Linked DNA regions of Homo sapiens: all the other regions are linked to region 3. The links are contacts of gene promoters, found by promoter capture Hi-C in blood cells and fetal thymus (Javierre and others, 2016). All regions are on one chromosome and are shown on one strand. The core of a region is centred on a gene start or on the middle of the fragment in contact, and the rest is flanking DNA. Distances in the headings are between cores, read along the strand shown.

Region 1 (4,800 bases), core at 1,352-3,851, 740 kb before region 3:
TAGTGGTAAAGAAAAATAGAGACAGATGAGAAATATTTACTATTTAGAATTAAGAAATCTTAATGACCACCTAGTTGGTCAGTGGTGAGAAAAAAATCAGAGGAAGTATATGAGTAATGATTCCAGGGATGGAAAGCTGACATTTCAATGGATGAACAATATATGACAAAAGCACAAGACAGAGGTGCACAGGTTAGCTTGGAGCTGTGTGAGCAAACTTAGTTTAGCTATAATATACAGAAGTCAGGACAAGGAGGCAGTGAGAGAGCAGGAATAGCTAGAAATAAGGAACTTACATTGATATAGGCATTGGGAAGCTTTGCAGGGTTTTTAAGTATTAGAATGACCTGTTGAAAGCAGTGATTTAGGAAAATGTGGCAGAGGTGTCAGCATTGACTAGACTATTGGAAAGGACATACCCTATAGCTGAATAACAAATAACTTGCTTGCAGTGTTAAATGGGAAATGTCATAAGTTTCCTAATACTCATTTCCTGTTGAGTATTTGCTCATGTCTAGTATACTGTATTACCTCTTCTTGAAATGTGTTTCTTTTCTCACAAGAACTTAACACACAGGTTAAGATGTGGAATGATGCAGAAATTTCTTTAAAACGTTAAGAGTTTTTAAATTGAATCTATCTCCATTACTTACAAAGTGTTTTTTTAAAAAAAATATATACCATACATTGTAAAACAATATGGTAAGTTATAACATATTTTTAAAAGCCGTAAGAGTATGGTCTTTGGAGTGATCCCATTGTAGAATTTGCATTTCATCTCTACTATCATTACTTTTTTTTTTTTTTTTTTTTTTTTTTGAGACAGAGTCTTGCTCTGTCACCCAGGCTGGAGTGCAGTGGCGTGATCTTGGCCCACTGCAACCTCCGCCCCTCCGATTCAAGTGATTCTCCTGCCTCAGCCTCCCGAGTAGCTGGGATTACAGGTGCCCGCCACCACGCCCAGCTAATTTTTGTATTTTTAGTAGAGACGGGGTTTCACCATGTTGGCCAGGCTGGTCTCGAACTCCTGACCTCGTGATCCGCCCGCCACGGCCTCCCAAAGTGCTGGGATTACAGGCGTGGGCCACCGCACCCAGCCTATCAGACTATTTTTATTCTCAAAAATAAACCAGGTTATGGCTGGGCACGGTGGCTCACACCTGTAATCCCAGCACTTTGGGAGGCTAAGGTGGGCGGATCACGAGGTCAGGAGATCGAGACTATCCTGACTAACACAGTAAAAGCCCATCTCTACTAAAAATACAAAAAAATTAGCTGGGCGTGGTGGCGGGCGCCTGTAGTTCCAGCTACTCAGGAGGCTGAGGCAGGAGAATAGCGTGAACCCAGGAGGCGGAGCTTGCAGTGAGCTGAGATCGCACTACTGCACTCCAGCCTGGGTGACAGAGCGAGACTCGGTCTCAAAAAATAAATAAATAAATGAAATAAAATAAACCAAGTTATTTCCCACCTTGGCTTTAGTTCATTTGGTTCTATCAGCCTGGAATGTTATTCTTTCCAGCACCAATATCCAACCCCAGCTGTAGAAACCTTTCTCGTCTTTTACTGGCCAATGCATATGCTACCTCCTCTGTAAAGCCTTCAAAGTTGGAATTATTTTTTTCACTCTCTTAAAGCATTATTTCCCTCTGTTATGCACGTATTTTATTCTGCTTTCCCCACAGGACTGTAAATTTTGAGTGCAGAAGCTGTGTCTTACTGGTCTTTATATCTATCACAGCACCGAGTGTATTACTTCACACAAAGTAGTACCTCAATAAATATTTGATTTGTGTATACAAATATATAAGAAAATGATCCTTATCTTCCTTTTATTCAACTTGTATTAGATTTAAAGATAATGAAGTATCTCATGGAAATAGATTATTCTAGAATGGTTAATGGTTGGCAGAGCCCATCTGGATAACTCTTATTAAAAACGAATATACTCAAAGATATTTTATTATTTGTATTTTGCCATATATTACGTTATGCCCAAATTTTGTTGAAAGATAACACTTCACCATTTTTAAACTTTAAGATGACTTTATCATTTTAGGTTGAGAATTTCTTCTGTATGGGATCCCCATTAGCAGTTTTCTTGGCGTTGCGTGGCATCCGCCCAGGAAATACTGGAAGTCAAGACCATATTTTGCCTAGAGAGATTTGTAACCGGTTACTAAATATTTTTCATCCTACAGATCCAGTGGTGAGTTGCAATATAGACTCTTTTTTTTCTCAATGTCAAATTGTTCCTAAAAAGAATCTATCAGCTGGGCACAGTGGCTCACGCTTGTAATCCCAGCACTTTGGGAGGCTGAGGCGGGCGCATCATCTGAGGTCAGGAGTTCAAGACCAGCCTGACCAATGTGGTGAAACCTCATCTCTACTAAAAATACAAAAATTAGCTGGGCGTGGTAGTGGGTGCCTGTAAGGCAGGAGAATCACTTGAACCTGGGAGGTGGAGGTTGGACTGAGCCAAGATCATGCCACTGCACTCCAGCTTGGGTGACAGAGTAGTGAGACTCCATCTCAAACAAAAAGAAAAAAGCCGGGCGTGGTGCTCATGCCTGTAATCCCAGCACTTTGGGAGGCCAAGGCAGGCAGACTGCCTGAGCTCAAGTTCGAGACTAGCCTGGGCAACATGGTGAAACTCCATCTCTACTAAAATACAAAAAATTAGCTGGGCACGGCTGTAATCCCAGCTACTCGGGAGGCTGAGGCAATAGAATTGCTTGAACCTGGGAGGCAGAGGTTGCGGTTAGCCGAGATTGTGCCACTGCACTCCAGCCTGGGCAATAGAGCGAGACTCTGTCTCCAAAAAGTAAAAATCTGTCTAAGACATCTTACAAGGTGCCATCGAATTAATGAAAACACTTCATTTATCTGATTATTAAACGTGTGTTTTGGTTAATTTAGGGCTCATGAGATAAAGTACCTTAGAGATGGTCTGGTTATGTTGCACCTGTAATACAAGAGTGTAATGTAAAAATATTATTCCCAGACAGTTAGTACAAGAGACAGGAGTCTACTGGACTTTCAAACCTTAACCAATTGTAATACCAGTAACCTAGAAACCATAAATCTTAAAAATCCTGCTCTAAATACTTTTTTAATCTAAAGTATGCTACAATATTGGAATGTATTTTGTAGACTCTCTGAAAAATGAAAATATTCAAATACTGAACATCAAAATAAAACTTTATTATAGCCTAATAGAATTGTAAGATGTTGGATTTTTCTATTCTCTATTATGTTTATGCTGTAAATATTTTTTTTAATGGAAGCACTCCAAGAACCTTGCATCCTGTTAAACAGTGTAATGCCAAGTAAGATTTTCAGACAAGAAAAATGCCCCCTTAATACTTCTTTGGGACAAGGCTGGTTTAACTAAATATTAAACTATTTTAAATAGCATTTATTCTCTGAAAAAATAGCTTCATATAATTGTGGAAAGTCTTTTAAAGGATCCTTTTAGCTAGTACCAAATAAATATAACATTGACTAACCATTCGAATTTTAGAAAATCTCTCATATGTTAAAGACTTACAACTGCCATATTAACTTCACTGAACTGGAAGTTTAATATAAGATTCAAATACAAACTGCACAATCCTGGGCAAGTTATTTCTGAGATTGTATCTTATCTGTATGATGTAGATGATAATATTTTGCCTTCTAGGATTGTTAGGATTAAGTAAAATATATATACACCCAGCTAGACAATAAGCATTTCATTAACATATACTCATTTTATTCATTGTCTCGTAACTTGAAAGTGAATTTCAGTTCATAGGTCTGCTCTGAGCCCTGTCCTTTGTATAACTTAAACTTTGTTGTAACTTTAAAGGAGGATTCCAAACTCTTAAATTTTTATTATTCATTTTATAGTTTTTCTGTGATTTTTAAAAAAATTAATACTTTGTTAAATAGTTTACGTCAGAACGGTGCAAGGCAGTTTTTACAAATGTTATCTGTTCTTTCTCACATCTCTGTAAGAGAGGAAGTGTTACCTCCTTTCTACAGCTCAGGAAACTCAGGGCTCCGAGACCTAGTGACTTAACAAGCATCATGCAATTAATAAGTGACAGAGGCTGGGCGCAGTGGCTCTCTATTATCCCAACCCTTTGGGAGGCTGAGGTGGGAGGATTGCCTGAGCCCAGGAGTTTGAGACCAGCCTGGGCACCAAGGCGAGACCCCATCTCCATCTTAAAAAATAAAATTTTCTAAAAATGTAAATTAAAAAATAAGTGATAGAAACCAGAATATGAATTTGGGGGATTCTGATGCCGTATCCATTGCCTTTTCTGCTGTCTCATTGCTACTTCACATCAGACAGATGCTCTTATGCTGGCATCTGATTTATGCTGTTACTGTATCAATCTATTTTAAAACAGAGCTTAAATAGAGCTCCTAAAATATTAAAAATTGGCCTTATTTGCTGTTTCCCAGGATTACCATCTACTACTTCAACTTTGCTCCTAAGACTAAAATAAATCTAATTGTTACATATCAGAACATAATAAAAATATTTCTCTGAAAAACTAATTGATAGACACTATTAGCCTAGACTGTTTTTCATAATCTCATCATTAGATCAAGTGCATATTAACAGTGAACAAATAGAAATACATGTTTGAAATAGCTATTGTTTTTTAATTAAATTCCTTCTCGGAGGTTTACTTAACATGCAGTAGAGTAAGAACAGTTTACTAAAATCCAAGCATTGTGATTTAACACTGTGTTTCTTTGAATTTTTTTTTTTAAATCAAGGCTTATAGATTAGAACCATTAATACTGAAA
Region 2 (4,684 bases), core at 1,376-3,875, 990 kb before region 3:
TTCACAATATTGATTCTACCCATCCATGAGAGAATGTGTTTCCATTTGTTTGTGTCATCTATGATTTCTTTCAGCAGTGTTTTGTAGGTTTCCTTGTAGACATCTTTTGCCTCTTTGGTTAGGTATATTCCTAAGTACTTTATTTTTCTTCACAGCTGTTGTAAAAGGGGTTGAGTTCTTGATTTGATTCTCAGCTTGATCGTTGTTGGTGTATAGCGGTGCTACTGATTTGTGTACATTGATTTTGTATGCTGAAACTTTATTGAATTCATATATCAGACCTAGGAGCTTTTTGAGTGAGTCTTTGGGGTTTTCTAGGTATATAATTATGTCATCAAAGAACAGTGACAGTTTCACTTCCTCTTTACCTATTTGGATGTCCTTTATGTGTTTCTCTTGTCTAATTGCTCTGGCTAGGACTTCCAGTACAATGTTGAATAGCAGTGGTGAAACTGGGCATCCTTGTCTTATTCCAGTTCTCAAGAAGAATGCTTCCAACTTTTCCCCATTCAGTATAATGTTGGCCGTGTGTTTGTCCTAGATGGCTTTTATTACCTTAAGGTATGTTTCTTATATGCCGATTTTGCTGATTTTAATCACAAAGCGATGCTGGATTTTGCCAAATGCTTTTTCTGCATCTGTTGAGATGATCATATAATTTTTGTTTTTAATTCTGTTTATGTGATGTATCACATTTATTGATTTGCACATGTTAAACCATCCCTGGTATGAAACCCACTTGATCACGGTGTATTATCTTTTTGATATGCTGTTGAATTTGGTTAGCTAGTATCTTGTGGAGGATTTTTGCATCTGTTTTTATCAGGGATATTGGTCTGTAGTTTTCCTTTTTTTGTTATGTCCTTTCCTGGTTTTGGTATTAGGGTGATGTATTGGTCTGTTTCCATGCTGCTGATAAAGACATACCTGAGACTGGGCAATTTACAAAATAAACAGGTTTAATGGACTACAGTTCCACATGGCTGGGTAGGCCTCACAATCATGGTGGAAGGCAAGGAGGAGCAAGTCATGTCTTAAATGGATGGCAGCAGGGAAAGAGAACTTGTGCAGGGAAACCTCTTTCCCATGTGAAAGACCTACCCCATGATTCAATTACTTCCCACCAGGTCCTCCCACAACACATGGGAATTCAAGATGAGATTTGGGTGGCAACACAGCCAAACCATATCATTTCACCCCTGGCCCCTCCCAAATCTCATGTCCTCACATTTCAAGACCAATGATGGCTTCCCAACAGTCCCCTAAAGTCTTAACTCATTTCAGCATTAACTCAAAAGTCCACAGTCAAAAGTCTCATCTGAGAAAAGGCAAGTCCCTTCCACCTATAAGCTTGTAAAATTAAAAGCATGTTAATTACTTCCTAGATACAACAGGGGTACAGGCATTGGGCAAATACAGCCATTCCAAGTGGGAAAGATTGACCAAAACAATGTTAACAGATGTTGGCACGGATGTGGTGAAAAGGCAACACTTTTATACTTCTGGTGGGTATGTAAACTGGTACAAACACTATCGAAAATAGTATGGGGATTCCTTAAAGAACTAAAAGTAGAACTACAATTTGATCCAGCAGTCCCACTACTGGGTATCTACCCAGAGGAAAATAAGTTATTATATGAAAAAACACACTTGCACACACGTTTATAGCAGCACAATTCTCAATTGCAAAAACATGAAAGCAACCAACAAGTGGATAAAGAAAATGTGAGATACATACATACACACACACACACACACACACACACACACACACCATGGAATACTACTGAGCCATAAAAAGGAATGAAATAATGGCATTTGTAGCAACCTGGATGGAGTTGGAGACCATTATTCTAAATGAAGTAACTCGGAAATGGAAAACCAAAAGTCACATGTTTTCATTTATAAGTGGAAGCTAAGCTATGAGGACCCAAACACCTAAGAATAAAATAATGGATTCTGGGGACTCAGGGTGAAGCGTGGGAGGGGGGTAAGGGATAAAAGACTACAAATAGGGTGCAGTGTACACTGCTCAGGTGTACCAAAATCTCAGAATCACCACTGAAGAACTTTTCCATGCAACCAAACACCACCTGTTCCCCAAAAAAAACTATTGAAATTAATTAAATAAATAAATAAATAAATACCTATAGAAGCCCTAAAAACTAAAAGGTTACAAGACTACTACTTCCCATATATACAATGTTAACACATAAAATCGGTATAAAGAAATTAATAAAGGTAATTTTTCTCAGAATGACCATTTTGATAAGTTTTTTCATATATCAAATTATTTCCAAAATATTTTTGGTACCACTGCTTGAGTACAGGCTTAATCTGCCTACTTGATAACCCAATATTATATATACAGGTAGGCAGATGAATGAAAAGAATGAAAAAAGAGGTAGATGAGAGATAGACATATAGATGAATAGGGGCTATATTTTAACTGCTCACATAATATTTCAAAGTCTATTTAAATGAAGATACGAGATTAATTAGAATGTTATCTATATTCCTCAAAAATGACTCTTCTTCTTGCAAAGGTAGATTATGGTATTCTAAAACTTAAAAGGACTACAGAAATCATCATGCCAACCACTTTCCAGATGAGGAAACTTAGGCTAAAAAGATAAAAGCCAGGATCACACAGTTGGTGAGTGCCAGAATGAAACCAGATCCTAAATGTCCTGCTATCTAGCAAAGCAGTTCTCTACAATACAATCCCACCTTCCTTGATAATACTAAGTTGCTTAGCAAACAAGATCTTCATAAATGTTGCAAGGATAAATTTCCTTTCAGTCTGCCCGAAGCAAATAACCACAATTTGCTTAGTATTAGTAAAACTCAGATCATCTAGGCATTGTCACCCCTTCAAGTTGCCCTCAGAGTGGGACAGTCAACTTGGAACAAAGTTTGACTTAACACAAGTTTCCCAGGTCTGAGAAATATGGCAAGAGGTGGGATTTATTGTTGTTGTTGCTTATCAAAACAGTGAGAAATGGCATGTTAATCAGCGAAGGACAAATTGTGGCTGTCATTTCCTTTTTCTCTAAAAGGTAAATATGTATAGACTGCAAATCATGTCCAGGAGAACTTATTTCTCACATCCCCATCCATCAGTTTGCTCTCAACTGCTCTCAACAAAGTGAGGAACCAGCTTTAAAATAGCTCTGAAATGGAAGGCTACTCTAGGTATGAAATATCCCATGGACCAAACCCAATAATCTCACTTCTCTTGAGTGCTCTCTTATTCTGACATCCAGCATGGTCACAAATAGCTTTTAAAACTGGACCAGGTACAGAAACCAGTCAAAGAAAATAAGAGGATAAAATTTGGAGAAGCCCGTCATGGATTTTAGCTTCCAAGCATATCACCAAAACTGTAATGTTCAACAACTTAAGCAGACATTCTCAGTGACTTCAGTTGACTTCAATGAATTCTGTTTCAGTCCATTTACCACAAAACAGTATGCCAAGGAAGGGACCCCACAGAGAGGAACTTCTCCTATCTAGTCATACCCTACCAACTCAGGTCTGAGGTCCTGATACTAAAAAGCTAAGTAACAAAGAAAATAATTTTTGTGCCTCTGAAGCCATTTTTCGAGGTGAGATGTTTCGCTCCTAGCCAAGCAAAGCTGCAGAATCTGTAGAATGTTGTCTTGCTCCCTCCTTGTCACCAGCCTGCCCTTTAACCCACCACTGAATGCCCTTTTTCTGCTCCAAGACAGCTATTGAATCACCACATTATACTCCCTGACCCTGCGGGGCCATGGTACAATATCAGAATGTCAAACTGGGTCTGAAAAGGGCTTTGTGTGGGATGAGACAAGACTCTAAGGATAGTAGAGCTGCTGAATCACTCAGGATCTGACCACAAATAGTGCTACGCTAAGCTTGCTGGGTAAAACTGCTGCCAGAAGCCCCTGTTAAATTTCTGGGCTAATTATGGAGGGTGGGAGGGTGACCTTGGAGGCAAGTTGTACTTAACACAGAGACCAGGAAGCCTAAGGGAAGAAACCCAAGTTGTACATCCTCATAAATACAATTTAAAATTCTCTAATTTAATAAAAGCATGCGATCCTACGACAAGGTAGTTTTCCTTAGGAGCAGGTGCACTGCAATTTTTTTTTTAATTTTCATATTAAATCTTCAGAGAGTTACACGGTAGATGGCAGCCTGGAAATACGCTGATGTATCCTGGCAGAATTTCAGACATAATGATTTTTTTTTCCTCTGTAAATCTTCCATCAGTGGGAAGGAAAGCCCTGCCAAAACTGAGAAACCCAAGCTGGAGGCAGCGAGGCTCCCACTCAGAGCACGGCGACATGCCAAGGCTTTCAAGGCCAAATCGGAAACAACCACGTTGAGTTCATTAAAACGACTGAATGATCAAAGTCATGCAAGCCTTCACAAAGGCAAAAATTAATCTGTTTAATACTTGGCTAAATTCTCAAGTGCTAAAGTAAATTTGAAACGAAATTCATCAAACTCCCCCTCTTCCTGTGGAAAAATCCTTTGAGTTCCTCAGAGTGCCCAGCAGATGGCAGAAGCGGTCTTTGTTTCAATCCATGGGCCTCAGCTACCGCGCCATGCCCAAAATTAACGGGAATAGGTACACCTGGGTATAGTTGTATATCTGAATGTGAAAATACACTTTCAGGATATCAGGAATTATATTCCA
Region 3 (4,311 bases), core at 717-3,216:
GCCAGGACTTGGTCTCTTGTCCTTCAGTTCCCCAGGTAGCCCCACTCTTCCCTTCCTGAGAGGGACCAGCCATTCCTGCCTGTGGCTTTGTGCTCATCAAGTGCATAACTGTAAGCTGAAGGACACCTGTGTGTATTTCTGACAGTGACATTAAGAGCGTGTTTTGCAAGATATTACAAATGCTTAGCAAGATGTTCCTCCAAGTATTTCCTCTAGTTATCATTATGGTTTTATAAACTTTCATGGCCACAAAGAGTTACATTCAAATATATAAATTGGGAAACCTATAAACTAGATGTTTGTTGGACTTTTAGGACAAATAACAAATGCTCTAAACTTCTGCTTCAGGGACCCTTCTCATCTGGGACCATTTTCAATGGCAGCTGGAATGCTATGGGTTGGGTACTACATTTTGCCCTGGCAGGAACAGAAGGCAAGCATGGAGAACCAGCACCAGTGGATGAGAGGTACAGGGCAGCAAACTGCAGCTCCAGGTCGTCAGGCTGGAACAGTGACAGCCATCCTAAGGTGGAAGGGGCTGCCTCTTTCTCAATTACTAAGCCAAGATAGGCAACAGCGAGAAAGGGACACTGCCCAGGGCTAGGATGAGGAGATTGGCTAGCTTAGCTGAGGCCCAGGACTCCCTTTCGGACGGTCTGTATTATTGTATAAGAAACTCTAGCCTAGCAACGCCCATAAGCCAGGATAAGGAAGTGGGCTAAAGAGGAGGGGAAACTAGTGGGGAAGGCTACAGATCTTTACAAATTAGGACATATTTTTACAAGTTGCAAAAAGTTTGTAGGGCGGTGGAAAGGGTGGAGGCGTCAGGGGAGAGCATGAGAAGGCTGAGCAGAGCCGGGCTGTGGAAACGTAGGGAGTGACTTACCGTGAAAGGCAAGGAGCAGACGGCGAAGGTGATGGTCATGATAGCCAGGAGAATGAGGTGGTCCGTCTCCTCCGCCATGGACACCCTTTCCCCTCTCCTGCGGGCCCCGGGGCCGCCCCGGCCACTGCCCAGGGAAGGTCCGCAGCGGCTTCTCCGGCTTCGGCGGTGCATGCGGATGAGGTTGAGAATGACACTGAAGTTGCAGGCGAGCACCGAGACAATGAGAAGCAGCAGCAGGGTGGCGTACAGCTGCAGGTAAGCGGTCCGCCCGTGCCGGATGAAGCACCAGGTCCCGGGGCAGTACTGGACGTACTGCCCATAGTCCAGCAGCGGCAGCGAGCAGAAGAGCAGGGAGACTGCATAGATGACAGGCAGCACGGCCAGGCCCCCGGAGCGCGAGACGCGGCGCTGGTAGAAGTAGGGGTGCCCGATCGAGAGGTAGCGCTCCAGGGCCATGGCGAAGAGCATGAGCATCGTGGCCAGGCTGAAGAAGGTCATGGCGAAAGCGAAGTAGGTGCACGCGCGGCTCTCGGGCGCCAGTGCCACCAGGGTCTGGTTCCGCGCGTACGAAGCCAGTACCACTGGGCTGATGAGGCAGGTCCCGAGCAGGTCGGTGAACACCAGCTCGGTCACCAGCACGTGGAACAAGGAGAGGGAGCTCCTGCGGCCGGCGCTGCACCCCACGTCCCCCCGCCAGCGGCGCGCCAGCAGCGCCAGTGCTATGAGGTTCCCCAGCACCCCGGCCGAGAACATGACGGAGCTGATGGCTGGGCTTTCGCCTGGGGGAAGCCACTGTCGCGTCTCGCAGTCCTCAGACTGGGAGTCATTGGAGGCATTGCCCATGGTGGGGTGCCTGGAAAAGAGATGCGCCCTCCTCTCCCGGCCTTTACCTGGGAGGAAGAGGGTCTGAGAGCCGGAGCGTTCCGAGACTCAGAGGAAAAAGGGGAGGGACCGAAATCCAGAGCCCCCTTCCCGCACCCAGCGCGCCGACGGCGGCTTGCCCTGGGTCTCCCGCCGCGCGCCGAGTGGCGGCTCGGCTGCTGCATCCGAGCGGCGCTCGAGGCTCCCGCGCCTACCCGCGCCGGCCAAGGCCGGGAGCCAGAGCCTAGGGGAGCCGTCGTCTCCGCCCCCGCACTGTCGGGGGGCGGGCCCAAGAGTGCTGGCCAGGCCTTGCAAGTGCGAGTGTCCGCGAGCTGCAGGGGAGGCAGGACGCGTCACACTCGCGGGGGCGTTCCGAGTCCCTGGGGCGCGCCGGCGGGGAGGGAGAGAAGGAGTCTGAGCACCCGCTGGGCGCGGCACTGGGCAGAGGCGCGCGTGTTGCCGGTGTACTGAAGCTGCCCGCGACCGGCGGGAGCGGCGTTTCTCGCTTCCTCGGGGTCCGGTACTCGAAGCGCACGGCAGTCTGACCTCGGCTGGGAAGCGTTAAGCCCCAGCAGAGGGCTGGGAGGGAGTGCAGGAGCACTTGCGGGGTCTGCGCAGAATACACAGAAGATCGGGGCAACGAGCAAAGCAAAGCAACTCACCAAACAATGAAGTTAGGAGAACCCAATCCCGTGAAATGAGCGGAACAAGGGAATAACAGTGCAAAGGCAGCTTGAAGTAAGACCAGAATGTTTTGCTTTGTTTTTACTATTCCCAGGAAGATACACTAAGAGGTTGGGACAAAAATTGGGATGAAGCGTAAAGCAAGTGTGTCCATCCAAGGAACCAAACCACACAATGCGCACCACCGAGCGGCCTGTTGCACTGCCGCTTTGATTCGGTTACTAGCATTTCACCGTTTCCTATGTCAACAGCATAACGGATAACCACTTGTTTAAGCAACCATTAAAAAAAGAGGAGTGTGTCTTATACAGAATTGTGTTTGTGGATACAACATGAAAACCATTGCACATCACTGTTCTGTCCTTAAGCTGAGCCTTGTAAGAAAATGTTGATATTTTGTTTAGCCGTTTATCTTTACATGTTGTTAACCACGTAGTATCCATCCAGAAAGACTTGTTCCTGGCAAAGTGTATTGGTAAGTGGCCAGTTTCAGACTGGAGCTGACAGTAATGGTTTCCTACCACATATTGTCATAATTGCAGAGTCGTGAAAATGGGCTGATATTTAACACAAAACAAAACAAAACAAAATCCAGTTTGGCAGACAACATAGGTAATTGTGTTCTGTAAGAAGTCACATTCACTTGGGGAAGGGAGGCCAACTGGGAAGTGAAGGGTCTGATCTGCCTAGGGAACTGGCAAGAAAGACAGTCATAACGTGGGAGGAAGCAAAGATTGCCTGCTGAAGAGCCTATCTTGCTACAGCCTGCTTACTCTCCATGAATATTTTTTGCCAACTTTGATGATTCTGGCCTGGGGATTGGAATGCGGAGTTGGGGGGGGTGGTTCCCACTAGAACAAGCATAATTTACTGGATCGCTTGCAAAGTTTACAGGCCGGTTTTCACATGTCAGCAGGCACTACTTCAATCCCTAAACTTCTCATGGCATGGATTCCTAGGAAAGAGGATCTTAACTCCTACAGTTTTTCTTTCAAGCTGTAAACTCTGCAGGTCAGTAACAACTTATTACCAATCTTTGCCATCCATCTCTGACTATTCCCCTACTCCAACATTCCCCCATCTCACCCCAAGCAATGGGGAAACATCAAACTTAAATCAGAAGTATTTCTTAATAGGAAAACACTATGATTTATAGCATAATTCTGCACTGCAGTTTTACTATTAAATAAGGGATTTTAGATTCACTGAATTTGCACAGTGCTTATTTTCCGAATATTTTTATACCTTTTTAATTTTCATAAGGCCCCTCACAACAAAAACCTACTATTTAACCTTTCCTATATATTTGTCTCTAGCTTTTCTTTGGATGGGTACCTGGTGGCAGGCCGGCCCCTGGTTTTTGTGAATACGAGAGCAAGAGTGCAGTTGAAGATCCTCCCCCAGGCCCCTGCCCCCTTGTCTTCCTAACCCCTGACTCAGTCTTGCACCACAAGGAGTCTTGCACAGAAATATGTGGAGAGTATAGTTCAATATGTGGACAGTATAGTTCAATATGTGGACACTATAGTTGTTGATAACCAAGCTCTCTCCCCAAAGCCACCTTGGTCCTGGGAATATGCATCTCAAACATGCAAATGACCCTTGATTGGATGGACCTAGGGAAGATGCCTGATCAAGCCCTGGAAGCGAGTTATGGGACCAACATTTGAGCAGGAAATTTCATGATCTCAGGTACCTGGAAGGTGGTCTAGAATGGAGGGGTAATGGGGTCTGGGTGAATAGTGCCCTGAGGGTGTCTCACCTGTGGTAAGGTATGTGACAAGAGGAAGACTAGAGTGGGCCCTATAAATCTTGGGAGGCCAGTATCCTATTAATTACTGTGCTGCTCAGCATTGCTTGTTCAAATTACTCCTTTTAAT

Evidence for each region. Contacts are between HindIII fragments. The CHiCAGO score rates a contact against its expected background, and 5 or more counts as called.
Region 1: a contact is called between a fragment that was not itself captured here and the fragment with the promoter of PTGER2 in region 3, in 2 of 17 cell types (naive B cells and total B cells). The highest score is 6.6, in naive B cells.
Region 2: a fragment that was not itself captured here is called in contact with the fragment with the promoter of PTGER2 in region 3 in 1 of 17 cell types (erythroblasts); the score reaches 7.7 in erythroblasts.

Annotation. Positions count from the first base shown.
Region 1 is chr14:53,055,883-53,060,682 of GRCh38, reverse strand. It overlaps DDHD1 (DDHD domain containing 1), which reads left to right. Exons shown (of 13, transcript NM_001160148.2): 9 at 2,057-2,206; 10 at 4,771-4,800. Among named protein-coding and RNA genes, the nearest start is that of DDHD1, 95 kb to the left of the region's middle. The HindIII fragment of the contact is 4,563 bases long and covers 320-4,800 here.
Region 2 is chr14:53,306,242-53,310,925 of GRCh38, reverse strand. No RefSeq gene overlaps it. Among named protein-coding and RNA genes, the nearest start is that of DDHD1-DT, 160 kb to the right of the region's middle. RefSeq lists an enhancer at 4,381-4,675. The HindIII fragment of the contact is 2,546 bases long and covers 1,353-3,898 here.
Region 3 is chr14:52,311,967-52,316,277 of GRCh38, reverse strand. It overlaps PTGER2 (prostaglandin E receptor 2), which reads right to left and starts at 1,966. Exons shown (of 2, transcript NM_000956.4): 1 at 887-1,966. The coding sequence starts at 1,729. RefSeq lists enhancers at 1,072-1,211, 1,232-1,381, 1,616-2,175, 2,176-2,736 and a silencer at 1,902-2,011. The HindIII fragment of the contact is 17,361 bases long and covers 1-4,311 here.